3 separate regions of the Homo sapiens genome follow, and regions 2 and 3 are each linked to region 1. The links are contacts of gene promoters, found by promoter capture Hi-C in blood cells and fetal thymus (Javierre and others, 2016). All regions are on one chromosome and are shown on one strand. Each heading gives the region's core, a stretch centred on a gene start or on the middle of the fragment in contact. The rest is flanking DNA. Distances are from core to core; before and after follow the strand shown. Region 1 holds the start of RAD50 (RAD50 double strand break repair protein). Region 2 holds the start of HSPA4 (heat shock protein family A (Hsp70) member 4). Region 3 overlaps AFF4 (ALF transcription elongation factor 4).

Region 1 (4,489 bases), core at 1,367-3,866:
AAAAACCCAGAATACAAAATTAAGAGTATGACATCAGCTATATAAAACAGTATTTAAAGGAGGAGGAAAACACATGAAAATGTCAACAACGGTTACTACTGGGTGCTAAAACTGTGTGGGGCTGACTTTCATTTCTCTTTATAGTTTTCCAGTGCCAAGTTTTCTATAATAAGCTATTATCATTTTTATAATTATAAAAATACAAAATTGTACTAGCACCATTACCTTGGGATCGTGTACAAATGTATTTCCTTTGGTTCCAGGAGGGAAATCTCCAGTACAAATATATTTTAGACATTCAATGATGGTCTAAAGAAATAGAAAATTACATTATTTCGTTATAAGAGAACCACAGAAGTTTACCATAAAATATGAATTCATTACAAAAATATTATTTATCATGGAAACTATAAAAGATAAAATCTGACATTATAAAACCTGTAATAAAAATATGATTAAGTGTTAATGCTGTAAGTTCACAGAAATGCTATATAACTAAGAAGTTATCCTAATATGAAGAATTGTTACTTGGGAAAAAAATAATTATTTTCAACTGAAACCCTTTAAACTAATTTAAGTTAATAATAAGAATGGCTAACAGTTAAGTACTGTATTGTACTAAGCACTCTTACATACATTTATTTAATTCTCACATTAACTCCAGGCTGTAGGAACTTTTTGTTTAAGAGACAGGGTCTCATTCTGCTGCCCAGGCTGCAGTGCAGCTGCATGATCATGGCTTACTGCAGCCTCGACCTCTCGACCTCCTGGGCTCAAGCAATCCCCCAGCCTCAGCCTCCCAAACGGCTCGGATTACAGTCGTCAGCCACCATGCCCAGCCTGTAGAAACTTTTTTTTTTTTTTTTTTTTTTTTGTGGGGGGAGAGAGTCTCCCTCTGTCACCCAGGCTGGTGTAGTGCAATGGCGTGATCTCGGCTCACTGCAACCTCCACCTCCCCGGTTCAAGCGATTCTCCCGCCTCGGCCTCCCCAGTAGCTAGGATTACAGGCATGCGCCACCACGCCTGGCTAATTTTTGTATTTTTATTAGAGATGGGGTTTCGCCACGTTGGCCAGGCTGGTCTCGAACTCCTGACCTCAGGTGATCCACCCGCCTCGGCCTCCCAAAGTGCTGGGATTACAGGCGTGAGCCACCGTGCCCAGCTGTAGAAACTATTTTTAATCTCCATTTTATAAATGAGAAAACTAAGGCACAGAGCAGTGAGGTCACTCGCAAACAATCAGACAACTAATAAATGAAGCGAAAAAGCTGTATTGAGGCAGCCAGTCCTCATAAACACTATACAGTACTACTCTCCCTTCTGCTAGTATTTAGTACAATCCTAAGTACATAACAAGCATTCAACAAATAACATTTTTACAAAAACAAAAGTAAACAAGTTTGGCATTCAATTCTCAACCTTCTCTCTTTCTACACTCTTCACAAATCCTTCCTTTAGACTCTTCTCCCTGCTATACTGACATCGTCTTGCTTTTTCTTAAGCCACTATTCCTGACCAGAATGCCTCTTGGTTATTCTTTCCATTCAAATTTATAAATATTCCCACGGCTTTAAAAAAAAAAAAAAGTCAGTCGTGCACCAACGTTAAATTTTTGACTGAGTTTTAAGAAGAGAAGTTTTCCAAGTTAAGCCCCACTACATCAGTTACATTTTGAATTTATTTATTTTCCATGTATTATGTCTGGACAGTTGGCATACTTGGAAACTCTTTAGTCATGTATGTATCATTTTATAACTTTTAAAGGAATTCTTGTATGGGACAACTACTGGGAAGTGAATGCTATGCTTTGAAAGCAAGGAGACAGCGTTAAAAACATCAATACAGACCAAAGGGCATCCAGTGGGAACTGAACTCTGAGTGAGCGGCGACAGCTCCCGGTATCGTGGGATTCTTAAGTAAACCTTGTCCCCAGGCCAGGTCCGGACATCCTTCCGAGACTGCTTCAGGCAAACTCCTAAGGTCGCTGTAGCCTGCAGGCCACACCCTAAGGCACTTTAAGGGCCTACACCTGTGGAGCCCTAGGGACGCTTCTGCTCCTAAGGAGAGTTCTCAACTTCCCATTTTATTCTCCGAAAGATGTAGCGACCTGTAAACTGAAGGCGGCTACTGAAGACTTACCGTCTTTCCCGCCCCATTGGGTCCAACCAAAATTGTAAGGGGGCTGAAGAAAGTGATAATTTGCTTATCTTTGTCCTCTATTCCAAAACTCCGCACGCCCAGAATGCTCATCTTTTCGATCCGGGACATGTTTGCAAACGTTTCTAATCTCACCAGGGACCTGGAGCCCACAAAGGCTTAACTGAGGCCGAAGCAAGGCGTGCACGGGACGTGAGACCCGCGAATCTCAGGGTCAGGAGGATCCGGGCGGGGAGCGAGGCCACAGGACTGCCAAAAGATCCTGCCAGCCAACAGCGGGAGAGAGGGGGCGGGGGATGGAGCCTTTCCTCCCACACCAGCTGCTTTCCCCGCCGGTGGGGAGAGCGGAGGCGGGGACCAGCCTGGGGCTGCCCGCCGGGGACGCAAAGCCGTAGCCACAATGCGACCCCGCAACCGCGCACTCACAGCTTCCTGCCTCGGCCGCCCTGCGGATCACGTGGGCCTCTAGGCCCGCACGCGTCCACGCCGCTCTCCTGGGGCACGCCGGGAAATCAGAGTCCCGCGGTGCGTGCGCAGCTCCGACTTCCGGGTGCGGTACGGCGAAGCAGAGGGCTAGGTGCTGGGTGCTGTTGCCAGGGGCAGCGGACTTCCGGATCTTTGCTGGGGATGGGCAGCCTGGAGAGGCACTGACTTTTGGAAGGGGAGACCAAGACCTGTGACGGATGGCGCTTCCCAAAGCTTGATCCTGGGACTCCTGGAATGGGGGTAGTGGTGGGGTGGATTGGAGACCCAGGAAGCGGGGTCAGTTCGTGTCAAAACTATTTTCCTTTTCATTCTCATTCTCTCTCTAACGTTCGTGTAGTAATTTCCAGTGATCACATAACATGTGATGACGCCATTGCAGTGGCGGTTAATGGAATGTGCGCATGTGTATTCTTGCGCTTAGAAATACCAATTTTAATTTCTAATTGAGTAAATGTTGATAATTATAACTCACGTACACGCTCTTTGAGGTCCCCCGTAATTTTTTAGTGTAAAGGCGTCTTTAAGACCAAAAGTCTGGGAACTAAAACTAAAAGCAGTCTGCAAATATGAAGAATGTAGAGGTAATCCATTCCGATCAGTGCTCCCAGCAATAGATATCTTTAAAAATAAGGGAAAGAGAAGTTACCTGTCTCAGAAGTAACTGAGAATATTGCTTTCTTGGAAACAAACTTAATGGAGGGATATCACATTTAAGGGCCTAGAGAAACATACATAAAAATTACTGAAACAATAGTGGAGGACATTTAAATGAAACACAAATTTGGAATTACTGTAGTGGTATAATTTGCCTCTGCCTGCCTTGGAAAAATGTAGGAAATGTTTCTCCAGTCATACAATCCCAAGCAAATAATTTACAGAACCTAATACATAAATGTATGTGCCAAAGGATGCAAGTGGGGAAGACCAGTGAGAAATAGTCTCTTGCTGTACCAGGTTAAAAAAAACCGGAAAGTGTCAGTTATTACAAAATAGTTAAAATAACTAATGGAACAAAACATTAAAATTATATAGGAATGTCTTACTTGGCAAAGCAAATGTAATAAAACAATGGGAAAAGACGAAAGACCTTTTTTTATTTTAAAAATTGTAAAATACACATAAAATTTACTGTCTTGGCCAGGCGCGGTGGCTCACGCCTGTAATCCCAGCACTTTGGGAGGCCGAGACGGGTGGATCACGAGGTCAGGAAATGAAGACCATCCTGGCTAACACGGTGAAACCCCGTCTCTACTGAAAACACAAAAAATTAGCCGGGCATGGTGGCAGGCGCCGATGGTCCCAGCTACTCAGGAGGCTGAGGCAGGAGTATGGCATGAACCCGGGAGGCGGAGCTTGCAGTGAGCCGAGACCGCACCACTGCACTCCAGCCTGGGCAACAGAGCGAGACTCCGTCTCAAAAAGAATTTACTATCTTAACCAAGTGTACATTTCAGTGGTGTTAAGTATACTCACGTACAACCGTCACCACCTTTCAACCTCTACAAATCTTTTCACTTTGCAAAACAAACTACCCATTAAACAATAACCCTTTCCTCCCCACATCCTCCAAACCCTGACAACCAACATTCTACTTACTGTCTCTATAATTTTTTACTAAGTACCTCATATAAGTGGAATCATACAGTATTTATCTTTTTGTGACTGGCTCATTTCACTTATAATGTCCTCAAGGTTCATCCATGTTGCAGCTCAGTCCCCAACCCCTGGGTCACTGACCAGTATGCATACCTGGCCTGTTAGGAACCTGGTGGCACAGTAGGAGGTGAGCAGCAGGTGAGTGAACATTACCACCCGAGCTGGGCCTCAGATCAGTGGGGGCATTAGA
Region 2 (4,489 bases), core at 523-3,022, 500 kb before region 1:
AGGAGACTGAGGCAGGAGAATCGCATGAACCCCAGAGGCCGAGGTTGCAATGAGCCGAGAGCATGCCACTGCACTCCAGCCTGGGGCGACAGAGCGAGACTCCATCTCAATCAATCAATAACAAGTGAGCCCCTGGGCAGGGCACGGTGGTTCATGCCTGTAAGCCCAGTACTCCAGAAGGCCGAGGCTGGAGGACTGCTTGAGTCCAGAAGTTCGAGACCATCCTGAGTGACATAGTGAAACCCGATTTCTACTAAAAATAAATAAAATTAGCCAAGCATGGTGGCGCACGCCTGCAACGCCAGCTACTCAGGAGGCTGAGGTGGGAGAATCACCTGAGCCAGGAGCCAGGGAGGTCGAGGCTGCAGTGAACCAAGATCGCACCACTGCACTCCAGCCTGGGCAGCCAGAGTGAGACCCTGTCTGTCTCAAAAAAGAAAAAAAAAAAAAAAAAAAGAAGAGAGACCCTGAATGGCAAATAATACAGAACTTCTTACAAGATTTTGTCTAAGAACACGACAACGGATTAAAATGTATCTACAAGTATTCAAAAGGCAGACACTGTAACCAGTGAAAGACCTGAGTGACCCACCATTTTTTAGAACTGTGTCTATGCTGGTCCCAAAACTTACTATGGGTTCTAGAAGTCAAGGCGGGCCCTTGAGCCACTAACAATTGTGGCCAACACACTGGTTAGAATGCATTATCGTTAAAGTGCAACCCTATTGAGGGGTTAACGCGCACAAAACAGAGAGTGACCCAATATAGCACAATATCCCGAAATAATGTGGAAAACAAAAGCGATTGCAAAGTTATCATAAGAGCACCGATTTTATTAAATTCCTATCCGTGCCAACCCAATCTCAAGACCCCGAGTCCATCCGGAACCCGTGCCTGAGGCTGCTCCAGCTCGCTCTCTTCCGGGCGCTGCCCCGCCCCCACTCACGTGGGACGCTGACCGCTCCACGGTCTCGCGGCTGGCAAGCCCCAGAACCCGTTCGATTCAACTATTATTAAGCGCCTGCTGTGTGCAAAGTTCTGAGCTTTCTGTTGGACTCAAAAGACTCAGTACGACCTGGGCCTGGTCTCTGCCCTCAAGAAAAGGACCGCGATCCGTTTACATCCTAGGCCTGCAGTCCTTCCAGTTCCTACCCGTGCCCTCCGCTGGTCCGAGTACCGGCCAGAAGCCTTTCTTCGGCCGACGGGCCACCGGGGAAAAGGCCCTCGCGCTTAGCACACACCCACGCTCATAGTGGGCCGCGGCCCCTAGTGTCCTAATACCTACTGGGGGTCCCTGACCTACCGGGACCTCGGCTCGGAACGGAGGCGACTCCTCGGCCCGCGTTCCCCAAGCAGCGAGGGTCCCAGACTGGAACAAGCATTATCTCCTAACCCCAGTGCACGCGGCAGGCCCGGCCCACACTTACGGCGTGCAGCGGTCGCTATACTCATTAGCGATAGTCTCGATGCCGCCGGCGCGGGCCACAGCGACGTAGCAGCTCTGGAAGCCCAGGTCTATGCCCACCACCGACATGGCGCCGGCTACTGCTCGGGCTCGGGCCCGGGTCCGGCCACCGAGACAGGACACGGACCCCCGGCGGGGCTAGCGAGTGGAAAGCAGGCCTCTTGGGCCGAGGCTACTGAGGGGCTTGCGGTGTCCACGCGAGCGCCTAAGTCCTTCCAGTGGGTACTGCAACCGAGAGCGCTGCTCAGGCCGGCTCCGGCTCAGTGGCCGCAGAGGAGGCGCCGGTAGCGGGGGCGGAGAAGATCTCGAAAGATCTCGTTGCGACGAGAGCGGAGCCGCAGCACCAGAGCTACGAAAGAACGGGATGTTCTCGCGATATCCCGGCTCAGGCGCTTTTCCCCTTGAGGCCCCGCCCCCAGTACGTCTGAATACGTCACGTCCTGGCTCGAGAACCTGGGAAAGGACTGGGTGGCTGAAAGATGGCTGGAAAGCGCATTTAGCCAACCGAGCCTGCGCATGGAACCTGCGGCGCTGCACAGCTGCATAGAGATGTGGAGCACCTCCCTTTACCGTAGAAAGTAGGCGAGCCAGCTCGAGGCACTATACTGAGGAAGCGCTGCGGCCTACTTCCGCCGTTTTTCTTAACATCAAAGAAACTTCCGGTAGTGGGGTGTCTTGCATTCCACCGTGTCGGTGCCCCAGAATGAGACGCAAGCTGATCTGCAGATCCCGCAGGGTGCCTTCTGCTCTTTTCGGGGCAGGTTGGCCGGTAGGGGAGAAGGCCGCCATTGGAACGCGGCCTTTATGTCGGGTTCTCTCAAGAGTCTAAGATCGCACCCTCACCAGCGGAGGGAAGGAGCCCACTCCCAGCCACACCGCTTTGTTTTCTTTCGCTTAGCCTTGTTGCGCCGTTCTCTAAGCCACTCATGTCCTTAGATCAGATTGAGGGGCCCGCAGGATTTAAGCCTTTAATCCACAGCACATTCCAAGCACCTACCCGGTGGTAGGCCCTAACAAGGAACACAGGCAAGTGACACGCTGCCTGGCCTGAAAGGTCCGCTCAGACCTTTACATGAAGTTAATAAATGTTAAGCTTCAGGGCCCCTCGCTTGTATGGCCTCCTGGGAGAATAGATAGTTGCTGAGTTGTGGAGAGGGGAAGCCAGCTTGAGATTAGGAAGCAAATCTATGTAAGCATTTCTAATAAATTACCCAGAGAGATCTAAGGAGAATCTGAATCTCCAAGTCTCTAGTAATGTGTTGTGATTTGTCGTTTTAATTATTTGTTTTGTGTATTTGTAGGGCCCCCCAATGGTATATAAGTTTCACCTCTGCAAAACCTGGATCATCCCCATCATGAGGGTGGCTAAACAAGTAAAGGTGACCCCAGTACAGAATGGCGAGTGCTATATGCACAGAATGGTGGAGACTAGGACAACTTCCCAGAAAAGGAAAAGGCTGTGTTCAAGTTTGGAAAACTAGCAATAGAGACCATAGTTTAAGGACTAAAAAGAAATTCTCCGTTGCTGGAGGGTACATCATGAGTTGAAGGTCTCAAGGCTAGAGTACCTGCCCTTCAGCCATTTTAAAAGTGAATGAGCAAAGAAGAAATTACATTGCCCTGGTATGCCCTTCCCTTTAAATACCTGCATTTCCTGCCACCTCCGGAGGTACTTCACTCTATAGGAGCAACCCCAAACCCGGGTTGATTACCATTAAAACTTGCAAATGGCCACACTGTTCTCACATTTTGCCTAACTAAAACCTGTTAATTCTTCAAAGACAAGTACCAGGTGCTACCTGTAAAAGGGTACTGGGAATAAAAAGAGTAGAGGCAGCCAGGAACAGCCTTTGGAAAAACGAGAGCAGGGACATATTTGTACATTGTATACCCATGTTCATAGTAGTTTATTCACGGTAGCTAAAAGGAGGAAACAATCCACATGTCCATTGACAGATGAATGAGTTTTCTAAATTTAGTGTATACGCGTAACAGTACATTATACAGCTTTGAAAAGACAAAGGAATGAAAGTCTGATAAATGCTACAGCATGAATGAACCTTGAAAATACGCTAAGTGGAAAGCCAAACAAATCAAAATTAATTTTTTTTAATTTTTAATTTTATATTCAAAATTTAATATGATTCCACTTGTATCAGGCACCTACAATAAACTACATAAAGACAGAAAAGCGGTTTCACAAGTAGAGTGAAATGGAGAGTTAAGGGATACAGAGTTTCAGTTTGGGAAGATGAGAAAGTTCTGGAGATAGATGCTGGTGGTAGTTGCATAACAATGTGCATGATCAGTGACAGATTTGTACATTTAAAAATGATGAAAATGGTAAATTTTATGTATATTTCACCACAATTTTTTAAAGTTTTTTTAAGTTAGGTTGACCTTGACCTTCCTTCCTCTGTTTTTCTCCTACCTAGGGGCAATATCAATAATACCAAGCACACTGTTGACCTTAATTATGACAGAGTCCTGTCTCCATCTGTTTATCTCAGTTGTTAATCACTGAGCAAACAACCCGAGCTGCCTAAGCTAAAGTGTCCAGTGGACCTAAAAGATCACTGTCTGTGTTACTGCCTGTTTCTGCCTTCCTTCTATTGGAAGACCTCCCTAGGTCTTAGCTAAGTTGATGAAAATTACACCCATATCTTATTATGTTCCAACTTCATACCTCAACTGCCTTGTTTGCCTTGGTACTGCTTTCAGTTTAAAATACCACCAGCCCTATCAATCTTTTTAATGATTTGTCCTTCTCAAAATAAAACATAACTACCATCAGTCACAGAGAGTACTCATCCTCCTATAAATAGTTTCCTGGATCATCAAACTTATAGCTTAAGAGATTATTCTGGGATATTTAAATAAATGAAGTCAGGAAAAGGTTATTTTAGAATCCTGAAGAATCTAACGTGGCAAGTTTCCAAGTATCACAGTTGCGAACCAACGAAGTGTCCAGAATATTTAATGTTGGAGGCACTGTGTTCGGAGAACAAATTCTTTCCATTTGGC
Region 3 (4,489 bases), core at 1,400-3,899, 330 kb before region 1:
AATGCAAAGGCTGTCTGTGCAAATCTGGCCAGAGTTTGCTGTCCTGGTAAATAAGCCGCCCTTTTCCATTGGCTAGCCTGCGATGCGAGTCTTTGCTGTACCTGAGGCTGTTCAAACTGAAGAAGGAAAATGCTCTGAAGTACTCAAAGACACTGACAGAGCACCTGAAGGTAAGTATGCAAAAGCACAAGGTCCGTTTCCTAGGAGACAGAATTTGTAGTCTCCCATCCCCATCTGAGAACTGCCCTCATGTTTATGCAAAACACACCAGGGGAGGAGCTACTGTTTGGGACTTTTCAAATAAGTTTGAGGTTTCTTTGAGTTTTTTAATCTACGTGTATCTGATTGTAGAACTCTTATAGCCATGTGCAGCGGCTGTATTTACTTTTTAAATGATCTTTTGTTTTCGGCCGGGTTCGGTGGCTCACGCCTGTAATCTCAGCACTTTGGGAGGCTGAGGCAGGCAGATCACGAGGTCAAGAGATTGAGACCATCTTGGCCAACATGGTGAAACCCCATCTCTACTAAATATACAAAAATTAGCCAGGCATGGTGCCACACGCCTGTAGTCCCAGCTACTTGGGAGGCTGAGGCAGGAGAATCGCTTGAACCCTGGAGGCGGAGGCTGCAGTGAGCCGAGGTCATGCCACTGCACTCCAGCCTGGTGACAGAGAGAGAGACTCTGTCTCAAAAACAAACAAAAAGTCTTTTGTTTTCATGCCATCCTTTTCTGACTACTATCTTAGTTTCCTAAAAGATTTTCCTATGTTTCTTCAGGCCAGTACCACATAAATCCTCCTAAAATCTGCCTCTGATTATGACTTGGAACCCTTCAGTAGTTGCCTGCTGGGTCAAGTTTAAACTCCTTACCCTGGCCCCAAGGGGTCTCTTGTTCCTTGTCTAAACCTCTGCTTTAGGCAAACTGCATGGGGCACATACACTGTCTTTTCTGCAGCCTTTGTGCATAGTATGATTCATCTCTCCCCTCTCCCCACCCACCCACCCACCCACCCCTTTTTTAAGAGGGAGTTTTTTAAAAAAAACGATCATGGCTCACTGCAGCTACTCCCAGGTAGCTGGGAGTAGCTGGGATGTATCCCCCTTCCCTTTATCCATGTGTTACTCATTATTTCCTTGCCTCTTCTGTGAAGTCTTCCAGAACACCCAGCTCTCACCTAATAATTTATTTCTTTTGTACTTTTACACACACACACACACACACACACACACGTATTTTGGTGTCTTAAATATTTACAGCTGCTCACGATGAGCTCTTGCCCAAAGCTTTTAAATATATTTAGAACTTCTTAAAGTAGTGGTGGTTTTTGTTGTTGTTAAGTACATTTTACTTTTTCCACAGAATTCTTATAATAATTCTCAAGCACCATCGCCTGGCTTGGGAAGGTAGGTAAAATTTTATTATGTAAAATATTATTGTGGCAATAAAAGTGAAATGAGTATGGTCCAATTTCCAAAAATGGAAAGATGACTACTTTTTAAATAAGTAAAACCATCTCTGATAAAATATTTTTAGAAGTTATAATTTTTTCTCTGTATTTTTTAGGAATTGAAAATATAAATGAACATAATCATAAAGATTAGATATGAGACGTTTCACCTGTTAAGAAATCTGAGTTTTTACTAGCACTCAACCCTTTTCACAGTTTGATTTCCATAGTTACTTGGACTTATCACAGCAGGCTTATCTTTAGTCAGATCTTGGCACTGCCAGAATTTAGTAACAATGACATGATTGTGATTTCTCCTTCATCTCCACGTCACTTTCATCCCACCTATCTCCCAAAGGATAAAAAACACCATGGAACCTTTTAAATTGTATCTGTTCAGTTATTATGTTTATAAGAATTGACATTCTTTGTCCTGTGTGTATTTTCTTACATAAGTTTATAATGCTAAAAGTGCAGATAAAAATACAAACAAGCCGGGCATGGTAGCTCACGCCTGTAATCCCAGCACTTTGAGAGGCCGAGGTGGGCAGATCACAAGGTCAGGAGTTCAAGACCAGCCTGGCCAACATGGTGAAACCCCATCTGTGCTAAAAATACAAAAATTAGCCGGGTGTGGTGTCGTGCGCGCCTGTAATCCTAGCTACTCTGGAGGCTGAGGCAGGAGAATCATTGGAACCAGGGAGGCGTGGAGGTTGCAGTAAGTCGAGGTCATGCCACTGCACTCCAGCTTGGGTGACAGAGCATGAGTGTCTCCAAAATATGTATATATGTGTATACACAAGTTTATTTTTACCCCAACTTTTGATTTTTCCTTTCTTTTAGTGTGTGATCATAGTCTTGAACATTTCACAAATTTTAATACTCCTGAAATGAACCTGCCAGATTTCAACATGTATGTTTTCTAAGAAATATTTAATTGGCAGGAAGCTTGGGGTGATTACAGTTGCTTGAGAGAGCTGTACCTCTTTGTTACCTCTGAGTAATTTGGTTAAACTAGGAAAGTGTCAGAAATTGTGGAGTTCAATAAAAGATGTTCCCATCTTCTACCACAGTTTTTTAGGTTAAATGTGAATTCCACCAAACTTTCTACAAAACAGTATAAAAAATATGTAATTATATGCCCGAACAGATGGAAAGTGTTGAGCAGAGAGTGAGGGGATCTGGCTTTTAAGTCTTTGAACTGTAACAAGGTACATGACTTCTTCAGTTATTGTCCATCTCTTGTTTTGTTGTTATTCATTAAAACAAAGGCTACAGATTCTAAGATAACAAGATTATGAATTACAAGATTATAGTACTTATTTAGAAGAAATTGTAGCTCTCTGAAAACCCATCTAGTTTAAGAGAATCTTTACATTTTAAATGCTTTCATGTAGAAAGAGCTAGTAGTACTTGATTTTATAATGCTTACCATGTCCATATGAACAAGCTTCCTATTTCTGTTGTGTAGCAAAGCTGTGGGGATGCCTTCCCCTGTTTCTCCAAAGCTGTCACCAGGCAATTCAGGAAATTATTCATCTGGGGCCAGTAGTGCTTCTGCAAGTGGTTCTTCAGTGACCATTCCACAGAAGATCCACCAGATGGCAGCCAGCTATGTTCAGGTCACATCCAACTTCCTCTATGCCACCGAAATTTGGGACCAAGCTGAACAGCTTTCCAAAGAGCAAAAAGGTAGGTAGGTTTCTGGATAAACTTCAAGGGATGGAATTGTTAGAAGGAACTTTTATAATTTAGTTAAGTAAGCGTTTAGTCTGTATTTAGTTTTATTATTTAGAGTTAATGATAATCTGTTTGTTAATAGTCTTCATTGCTTAGCAGTTAAACAATAAATGAAACTGAATTTGGTCAAAAGATACCTCTCATGATTCTGGTGACAAAACTAAACTGAAAATAGTTCTTGGACTAAGACAAATGTGCTTATATTCTGGCACATTAAATGCAGCTCATACCATAAAAGTAATAAAATATATGTCCTACCCTAGGATGGTTAACAGTAAATTTGGCAATAGGCATAAGATTACATCCAAACATCTGTACATCTGAGAAGGTTAATGTATAAGAAAGCATGCTCATACTGGATTTTTAGGTATATTGGAAGAAACCTGTGAAATAAAGGAGACTAGGGAATGAATAGAAATTTTTTTTTTTTTTTTTTTGAGATGGAGTTTCGCTTTTGTTGCCCAGGCTGGAGCACAGTGGCACGATCTCGACTCACTGCAGCTTCCACCTTCCGGTTTCAAGTGATTCTCCTGCTCAGCCTCCTGAGTAGCTGGGATTACAGGTGCCCGCCACCATGCCCGGCTAATTTTTGTATTTTTAGTAGAGATGGGGTTTCACCATGTGAACCAGGCTGGTCTTGAACTGCTGACCTCGTGATCTGCCCATCTCAGCCTCCCAAAGTGCTGGGATTACAGGTGTGAGCCACCACGTCCGGCCAGAATTCTTAACATTCTTTAAAATTAGGTTGTTTGAGGCTTTGCCCTTTAAAAGTTTATTATTTCCCAAACCAAGGACATGGAGAATTATAAAGTCTTTGAAGACCTTAGTGGAAAGTACTGTATAACCACCATTTTATTTAGTAGATGTTATTAGCAAATATGTGCATGCAGCTTCTCTTTAGGCAGATCCTTTACAGAGAAACACTACATTAGCCAATCAAGTGTCATTTTGTCACAGAGTACATTTAAATACTTACAGCGTGAACAGGTAATCAGATGAAAATGAAAGATTCCTATCCCTAAAGAGAGGCAATGGTGAAAGGTAAAAGTGGAATCCCAACTTTTTTTTTTTTTTTTTTGAGACAGGGTTTTACTCTGTCACCCAGGCTGCCCAGGCTGTGGCACAGTCACAGTTCACTGCAGCATCTACCTCTTGGGCTCAAGTGATCCTCGTGCCTCAGCCTCCTGAGTAGCTGGGACTACAGATGTGTGCCACCACACCTGGCTAATTTTTCTACTTTTTGTAGAGATAAGGTCTCATTATGTTGCCCAGGCTAGGAATCCCAACATTCAACATAAAGC

The links. Contacts are between HindIII fragments. The CHiCAGO score rates a contact against its expected background, and 5 or more counts as called.
Region 2: the fragment with the promoter of HSPA4 here is called in contact with the fragment with the promoter of RAD50 in region 1 in 1 of 17 cell types (fetal thymus); the score reaches 6.4 in fetal thymus.
Region 3: a fragment that was not itself captured here is called in contact with the fragment with the promoter of RAD50 in region 1 in 1 of 17 cell types (erythroblasts); the score reaches 5.1 in erythroblasts.

What each region holds. Positions count from the first base shown.
Region 1 is chr5:132,555,104-132,559,592 of GRCh38, reverse strand. It overlaps RAD50 (RAD50 double strand break repair protein), which reads right to left and starts at 2,616. Exons shown (of 25, transcript NM_005732.4): 1 at 2,140-2,616; 2 at 226-309. The coding sequence starts at 2,268. It also overlaps a transcript of IL5 not described here. RefSeq lists an enhancer at 2,333-2,993. The HindIII fragment of the contact is 3,439 bases long and covers 1-2,858 here.
Region 2 is chr5:133,049,296-133,053,784 of GRCh38, reverse strand. It overlaps HSPA4 (heat shock protein family A (Hsp70) member 4), which reads right to left and starts at 1,772. Exons shown (of 19, transcript NM_002154.4): 1 at 1,428-1,772. The coding sequence starts at 1,534. RefSeq lists enhancers at 1-558, 1,797-1,976, 2,167-2,216, 2,287-2,336, 1,523-2,485. The HindIII fragment of the contact is 9,846 bases long and covers 1-2,560 here.
Region 3 is chr5:132,881,991-132,886,479 of GRCh38, reverse strand. It overlaps AFF4 (ALF transcription elongation factor 4), which reads left to right. Exons shown (of 21, transcript NM_014423.4): 18 at 77-170; 19 at 1,361-1,404; 20 at 2,920-3,140. Among named protein-coding and RNA genes, the nearest start is that of LEAP2, 11 kb to the right of the region's middle. The HindIII fragment of the contact is 502 bases long and covers 2,399-2,900 here.